3 separate regions of the Homo sapiens genome follow, and all the other regions are linked to region 2. The links are contacts of gene promoters, found by promoter capture Hi-C in blood cells and fetal thymus (Javierre and others, 2016). All regions are on one chromosome and are shown on one strand. The core of a region is centred on a gene start or on the middle of the fragment in contact, and the rest is flanking DNA. Distances in the headings are between cores, read along the strand shown. Region 1 overlaps NTM (neurotrimin). Region 2 holds the start of NTM-AS3 (NTM antisense RNA 3). Region 3 overlaps NTM (neurotrimin).

Evidence for each region. Contacts are between HindIII fragments. The CHiCAGO score rates a contact against its expected background, and 5 or more counts as called.
Region 1: a contact is called between a fragment that was not itself captured here and the fragment with the promoter of NTM-AS3 in region 2, in 1 of 17 cell types (monocytes). The highest score is 5.5, in monocytes.
Region 3: a contact is called between a fragment that was not itself captured here and the fragment with the promoter of NTM-AS3 in region 2, in 1 of 17 cell types (M0 macrophages). The highest score is 6.1, in M0 macrophages.

What each region holds. Positions count from the first base shown.
Region 1 is chr11:132,146,019-132,148,718 of GRCh38, forward strand. NTM (neurotrimin) reads left to right here. Exons shown (of 9, transcript NM_001352005.2): 3 at 264-496. Among named protein-coding and RNA genes, the nearest start is that of NTM-IT, 140 kb to the right of the region's middle. The HindIII fragment of the contact is 6,073 bases long and covers 1-2,700 here.
Region 2 is chr11:131,895,763-131,898,588 of GRCh38, forward strand. NTM-AS3 (NTM antisense RNA 3) reads right to left here and starts at 1,571. Exons shown (of 2, transcript NR_199062.1): 1 at 1,263-1,571. All of the region lies in intron 1 of NTM (neurotrimin), which reads left to right. The HindIII fragment of the contact is 6,910 bases long and covers 1-2,826 here.
Region 3 is chr11:132,118,354-132,121,053 of GRCh38, forward strand. The region is part of intron 2 of NTM (neurotrimin); the gene reads left to right. Among named protein-coding and RNA genes, the nearest start is that of NTM-IT, 160 kb to the right of the region's middle. The HindIII fragment of the contact is 2,285 bases long and covers 229-2,513 here.

The DNA.
Region 1 (2,700 bases), core at 129-2,628, 250 kb after region 2:
TACCTCTAGGTTATAACTGAGATCGTATTTGAAGTGGTTCTGTGCTCAAGTGGTTTGAGAAGCTCCGAGCAACATTCTGAGGCTGTAATCCCATAAGACCTTTGCTGTGTTCCAGAAAAGTCCACCCCTGACAAATCAAAGGAAATGTATGTGTTGGGGGAAGGGAGAAAGACAAGATATTCTAGCCTTGCCATGAGGACCTCCCTCTGATGGCTGCTGTCGTCTCTCAGTCCCTTGACGTACCTGTCTGGTCTTCCCTTCAGGTGCACTATTGACAACCGGGTCACCCGGGTGGCCTGGCTAAACCGCAGCACCATCCTCTATGCTGGGAATGACAAGTGGTGCCTGGATCCTCGCGTGGTCCTTCTGAGCAACACCCAAACGCAGTACAGCATCGAGATCCAGAACGTGGATGTGTATGACGAGGGCCCTTACACCTGCTCGGTGCAGACAGACAACCACCCAAAGACCTCTAGGGTCCACCTCATTGTGCAAGGTAGGTGGGCGGGGCTTGGCGGGGAGATCTGGCTGGCCAGCCTGGAAAGCCTTCAGGTAAAGGTTTGTTCTCTGATCCTCAACAGAGATGAGTTATCCTTATTCTACGCATCTGGGGTCCAGGGCACATTTCTGGTTGTCATTTTGCAGTTAGAAGCTAAATTTTCCAGTCATTTTCATTGAGTGGAACTAGGAATTGTTTTTTTCATTTTTGTTCCAATAATATATTTTCTCAGGAAATTATCTTGTAATTATTGCTCTTCTTGGCTTTTTTCTCCCCTAAGTTTTAGTTATTTTTGTTTGTTTGTTTTTTGTTTTGTTTTGTTTTGTTTTTTAGATTTCATCCAATTCCAAGACTGTGTTATGTTTAAAACCAGACTTTTAATGCACTTTTGGAAGTACAGGTATGCCATGTCCCCCTCCAGCCTTGAACGAAAGCAGAGCCAACCAGGATGCACTGGGCACTGCCCTCAGCTGCATCCTTCACAAGCACCTGCTTGTTTCCAGCTCACTTGCGCCTCCTCTCCTCTCCCAGCCAGGGGTTTTGGATGCCATTTCTCCCATATAATACTGGTGTCTGATTCTCCCTGTTTTGATTCCATCCCAACTCTCCTGGCCTTCTTCTCCTCCCCTGACTCCTAGTTCATGAGGCCTTGTATGTTTGTGTGTGTGTGTGTGTGTGTGTGTGTGTGTGTGTGTGTGAGAGAGAGAGAGAGAGAGAGAGAGAATATGTGTGTTGGTTATGCTCTCTTAGACCCTGGGAATGGAGCTCACCTCTTCCCACAAGGCAGAACCAGTCCTGGGGCATTCAGACAACACTTAACCCGGTTGAAGGATTCCTAGTTAGTGAGCAAGAGCTGGCATCACACTTGGCCACTTTCTGGCTGTGAGACCTTAATCAAGTTATTACCGTGTCTCAGGGTTCTCTTTCTGTAAAGGGGGTCAACGTGAGGATTGAACTGTAAACGTACTGACATAGAAAACACGTAGAAGAGGGCGTGGCACATACAAGTGCTATTTCAGTGTTAGCTATGGAGCTTTCTTTTCTCTTTTTTAGGACTTTTGTAATTTTTAAAATTTTTGAGCATCTTTTACAGTGGGTCAAATATCTTATTTTGTGATGTCAGCAGTATAGCCCCTGAGCAGCGGCATGCCAGATCCAGTGCTGGAGCCCTTTCCCAGGCTGATCCCGAGGCCCTTTCAACCAGGGACGTGTAGCTCCAGGGTGACAAACTCCTCTCCTAGGGGCTCCTTCCACCAGTCCCCTTGTCGGTGTGTTCAAGAAAAGGGTAAAGAACTATGGGATGATTGGTTAGAGACAGAATAGGAAGGAAGGCAGCTTGAGAAGGAAGAACTGAAGTGAGCCGGAAGAAGGAAGGGGAGGCCTGCTGTTTGACAGTAGGGGAAGGCGGAACTTGGGTCGTGATCAGCACTGTTGAGTGAGGCAGGGTGAGCAGGACTGAGAGGAGGACACATGAGAACAAGGTGATGCTGGACCTGGCTGTGGGCAGAACGTATGCCAGGGGACATGGGAATCCTTGATGCTGTGGCCCAAGTTTGGTCATGCCAAGTTTTTATTATATTTTGCTTACTCTTTCTTCCCCAAAGGAAATTACAATGGCTGTTTAAAAAATGATTCTATAAATGAATACTTTTTGAACTGATGCATGCAAACAGCAATTTTAAAGAAAATAGAATTGCATAGAAGGTATCAGAGTGTATTACAAAGAGTGGAGTAGGTATTGCCATGTGAGATTTTTGTTTCAGTTTGTGTACATTTTTTAATGTAAAATACATTTTTTATTATGGATAGGGAGGCCAAAAATGCTTGAGAATCTCCACTCTGTGGGCAGGGCTGGTGAATGCCCTGGTGCCACCATCTGCATACTCTACCAGGTGGTGGTTTGGAAGCTATTGCTCAGCCCCCCTCCTGTCCTGCCCCAACCCCTGCACACTTAGTGTTGAGAAAAGAATGCCTAGCATTGACAATGAGAGACTGGGAACTAGGAACTATTAGAGATATTTGCTTTAGGAAGCAGGGCCTCATGGAACTGGAAAGTGGAAGGAATTGTGAAAAGTGCTAATGTCTCCTTGAAAACTGGATCATATTTTTGTCATTTTCTTTCTTCAGCCACCCCCACTCACACACACCCCCACACCCCTGCCCTGAACACCTCGCAGAATGCCTGATACAAAGTGAACATT
Region 2 (2,826 bases), core at 321-2,820:
AAGCATTGGTTAAACTAATGTTTCATGGAGGAAGTAGAATCTGAACTGGTTCTTGAAACCTGAATAGGATTTAGAAAGCTGTGGATGGTAGGAGGGCATCTTGGCAGAGCAAAAGTCTGAGCATCTACACAGTTTGTGATATGCAGGGCAACTTTCCAAGAAGAACGTCTAGTCCAGGTTGATTGGGTCCTAGGATGTTACATGAGTGCAAAAATGAGGCCACAACAAAGACTAACACTATTTAATTAACTTGGGATACTTCTTGATTGTCAGTCTTAAGAGTTGGGTCTTTATGTCATAGGCAGGGGGAGCCACTGAAACTTCCTACATAAGTAAAGGACATCATCTGATCCCTGCCTGAGAAAGATAAAGCTGGCTTCTGCATGTGAAATGCCGTACATCTGCTATTCTTAACTTTTTCTAACATAAAAATCATTGAAAATATTTTATAATACCCTCATTACTGTGCAGAAAATAAGTTCACAGATAACATATAACACCTATCACATACTTCAAAAAATGACCTATATAAAGTCTGACTGAATCTGAAGGAGAAATAAATAGAAAATGATTGATAATAATATAAATGTAAAATAAATATTTGGATACAACTACCCCATAGGATATAATGAAGTATGGAAGCGTCTATATGCAGAATCACCATGAATGTGACAGCTAAGCAACAGTAGAGACCTGCTACAAGGATGTAGAATTAATTGATGACTCAATATTATGAGAAACATTCCCACTGAGTACGTGATTTTTCAAACTAGTGAACACTTCTTGGTAAAGATGTGAACAAATCAAACACAGTCTTTCTTTGACTTGCAGGATAGTTGCATTCCTGGAGAATTAGCGAATATTAAAACCTGGCAAGAATATCTGTGTTTACATGCCAAATGGAGTACATTTTAGGCTTTTTTTTTTTTTTTTTTTTTTTCTCTGAGACGGAGTCTGGCTCTGTCGCCCAGGCTGGAGTGCGGTGGTGTGATCTCAGCTCACTGCAAGCTCCGCCTCCCGGGTTCACGCCATTCTCCTGCCTCAGCCTCCGGAGTAGCTGGGACTACAGGCGCCCGCCACCAAGCCGGGCTAATTTTTTGTATTTTTATTGGAGATGGGCTTTCACTGTGTTAGCCAGGATGGTCTCGATCTCCTGACCTCGTGATCCGCCCACCTGGGTCTCCCAAAGTGCTGGGATTACAGGTGTGAGCCACCGCGCCCGGCCTAGGCTTAGATTTTTGAAAGAAAAAGGTTTCACTCACCTAAATGTCTGGCAGGCATTTGACGTCCGTGGCTGAATAGCCATGCGTTGCTGCGTCTCTAACCTCTGCGGCCTCTGTACACTAAACGGCAGCAGTACCTCTCCAATTATGGTGGTGACCAATATCCAATCAATTTTCCACTCCCACAATCCAAGGAGTGTGCCCTGCCCCTGTTAAGAAGCACTGACTAATGCAGAGGCAGGGTTGGAAGCAGAGAGATGAGTTAGGATTTAATTAAAAGAGTAGAGAGAGAGGGGAAAGAAAAAAAGCAAGAGAGCCTTGGTGGTAGCATTGGAGACTGGCAAGAAGGAAAAAAATTAAGAGGCACTGATCTACCAGTGAGCAAAGGGTTGGCAATGCCCTTGGTAAAGTTTACATCACTGTGCAAATATTGTTGCAGTTGGAGTTAAATGTCATCACACTCACTGTACAGAGATGGTATCTGAAGCACTGAAAAGGTGCAATGACTTTTGCAAAGACACAGCACAGGTCAGGAATTGTGTTAGACACCCAGTGCCTTAGAACTACACTTTTACTGTAATTACTAATGCAAAGGAGCTTCTACTCAGCATGGGAAATTATAAGCAGAAAACTCGAGTAGAGCAAATATAAAGGTAGAAATAACTTCTGAAAATAGTCAAATTCCAAGTATTCTATTTATCACCTCTTGATGGAACACCTGGGAAACTCTAGGATTCCAAACAAAGACCAATATTCCACAATCCATCCACTTTTTTTGTTTGCTCATACCTCTAAATATTCATCAGTAACATTTGAGACAAAGGAAAGAGATAATTATGAGGGGAGAGTTTTTAAAAGATATTAAAGGTTAACAGAATTCTTGGCATTTGTGTCGTGTCAATTTCCATGTAATTATGCTCAATTCCCAGAATTCAGTGTCAGTTGTGCCTGTTAATGCTTAAAGATGATATCCTTGGAAAATAATTTATAAGATCATTTCTCAAATATTTCGGATTCAAACCAAGCACCCTGGCTAATAGGCTGATTATTATTAATGTTATTCTTGGATGGAGAGTGCTAGGAGGTCGTAAGTGGGATGTTGGGATCAAAGTGGATTTGTTATGAGAGTGTGGTTAGCTATCTCTCCTAAGAGCAGAATGACTGTGCTCGAAATGTTTATATAACCTGATTTACAAACCTCTTCTATTTTTGTTTGATAAATAATAAGAATGTGGGAAAGCACGCCAGTTCTCTGGAATATGACTGCCTTTTAGAAGAAGGAAAGGGAACCAGTGCTGATGTCTGCCTGTGGGGAAGTATGACCAACTGGCTTTGTGGAAAAACATTGAGACGCACAGGCCTAGATATTTTTTACATGTTTATTCATTCGTTCATTAATTCTTCTCCCATTTATCATTGAATGTGTTTTACCTGTTCTTTGCTGAGATCGAGTGATTATAAATAAGACACTCTCCCCTTTTCTGTTCTTTTGAAATTGTGTACATTCCCTTTGTAGTATTGACTCCAATTGTGATTCATTGATTATCTGTGCAATTATTTCTAACATTCATCTCTTCCAGCAGTCTGTAGCCATGGAGGTTGG
Region 3 (2,700 bases), core at 121-2,620, 220 kb after region 2:
CAACAATTTGAGAGGGCTGAGCATGGATTGAGGCTGAGAAAAAGCTGGGACTTGGCATTGCATCTCTCCTGTGCAGATGGCAGAGAATAAATCTTGACTTTGCAAGGAAGATAAAGCAAGGTGGAGGTGTTTTCATCGCAATCGCACAGCACATAAATGGCAGAGAGAAGAAAGAAACCTCGGAACACGGGCTTCCTCTCCAAGGACAGCTACTGCTGTTTTGGAGAAAGCTTATCTGCTCTTATTTCACCATGAGAGAACTTCTGTCCTCAAGAGCCACGGAAAGGGTACCAGAAATAGATGAGAGCCCACCAACAAAAGGAATGATGAAGTGGCCCTTTAAATATAAATCTCTGGCACCCCCAAACTCTCTGGATGTTCCCTTACGTATTCAAATGAGATCGCAGCGTCAGATTGGTATGCATTAGGCTGGTTTCAATGAAAATTAACATGTAATTGCTTCAAATGAAGTAAGTGAGGAGGTAATCTGTTCTTAAATTGGATTCCCGGGATTTTGTGGTACCATAATGCAGCTGTGAAATGAAATATATTTTAAGGATGATGTCCTCAAGGGGGTGAAGGGGCTGGGAGGGGGAGGAGTAGAGATAGATAGTGTATAGTAGAAGCGCCTCTCCCCCCAGCCTGCCACATTCTTTCTCTGTCTCATTCTCCAGTTTCCAGCGGATGAAAAGATGTTCTCTCATCCATGGGTGGCCCCCATGCTCTGGGCCCTGGGACCTGGGCAGACAGTGCCCCACATTGGCATCAGCCGGTCTCCTCTACTTCTTACTGTGTCTGGAGCTTATTCCCAGAGGCTGTAGCTCCCCAGGGCTGTAGCTCTGTGGTCACCCTGGACACTGGATTTGTAAGGAGAAGGTGCTCGTCCTGCAAGTGGTGTCTACTGAGATCATCAATGGCTGAAGGGTGCACTGCTACAGTTGGGCAAATTTTCCAAAGCACACTGTGCAGTAAGAAAAACCATCACTCCTTGTACTCCTGGAATGGGGACATGTGCGCTTGACATCATGACTGACCCTTCTGATATCAAAGAGTGGAGCTGGGGTCGCAGCAGCAGGAACAGCCAATTCCATTACCACCACCGGCCTCCACAGCCTGGGTTCAGCCAGACCAGGCACCCCTGCCAGCAGTGATGATATGGTCTGTGAAGTCTGAAGATGAGCCTGGGAATAATTAACCTTCTTACCGTTCAATCAGGACGGGAAGCAGCTGGGTGAGGAGTCAGTGCAGGTTAATGCATTAAATTGTTTGCCTTTGCCATCCTAGGCTGAAATGGGATTTTCAGTCACAATGGAAATAAGCTGGCAGTCTTCTGGTCCCGTGGCATCACGCCTCTCTGCCAAAGAGCCATATCTGATGGGCTTTGGGGACCTTCTGCACCAAGGCTACAGAAGGGCAGAGCTGTTAAATGAAATGCAATCACCTGGCAATGCACAGGCAGTGCTGGGTTAGGGTTCACACAGCAGAGCAGTGCCACTGGTCTAGACCGAGTCCCCATCAAGGGCTAGCATGAGAATGGCATGGCTGCCTTGCATCAGCTCCTGGGGAGATGCAGATTTATAACACGCTATATAAAGAGTATATGTTCTGGTGTAAAAAGCCCCCATCAGAGCTAGAGAGAAGGGAAATTGACAAATCTCAGAAGAATGCGATTCTGGGCATTCTCTATTGCACGCGAATCAGGACCCCCGTCTGAGCCCCCCGCTTGCCTTCCCTCCCAGTCACAGCTTGGTTCTACAGCTCGGCTGATGATTTTTTTTTTTTAGTTCTTGTCTTTGTTTCCTCCTGTTTATGTTGCTATTTTCTTTCTGCACATGTTGAGCAGCTCTGGCTTTAAAACTGATCAGAGCTCATGGCTCCTTCAAATGTAGACGTTGTATTGCTACAGTCTCTCAATATATGGGACCAAGATTTTTGAGAGAATGCCAGAATGTTTCTGCTCTTCCCAGGAGTTGGTAGACTTAGAAATTTGAAGAAGAGAAAAGGGAAAAGAATGAGAGTGAGGGGTGACAAAACTCAGTTTACCCGACTGAGTTTAGGTCTCCCTAAAAACAGTGGCCTGAGACACTTTAGACCCAGCTAATGGCTTTTATTTCCTCCTCTAAGGTTGCAAGAGACAGTGTCTTTGCTGTGGGCAAAAGAGGGACCAGACTATGACCAATGATTAAATTTTGAATCACTCCATATAAAGAATAGGACCTCTTTTGAAGACCAAATCTGTAAACCACATTGGATAAATCATCTATGTTGCTGGCTCCTTTCTTTCTTCATCTGGTAGTAGGCATAGAATAGTATTTGCCTCCCTGCTTAGGGTTCTGCAAGGATTAGTAGGCGTTAATATCCACAGGAGTCCCCAGAGAGAGATATGCCAATAGCAAGAAAAGAGAGCTTAGCGTCCTTTTCTAGATTCTCCGTGGATGTGGAATCTACTGTACAGTTTATTTGTCGTCTGAACCCCAAGGTGCCTCTTGGTAGAGTATGCATAGGCTGCTGCAAGCTTAGCTCTGCTGGAAGAGGTGGGATGGAATGTATTTTGTGGGGAGTGCGTGTGTGTGTATGTTTGAGAGAGAGAGAGCACGTACACTCGTGATTTTTCCATGATCTAATATCTTGAATTAATCATTGTAATGCCTTTTTCTGCTATCAAAATATGTCCAGTGGTCACCTTGATATGCTCATCTG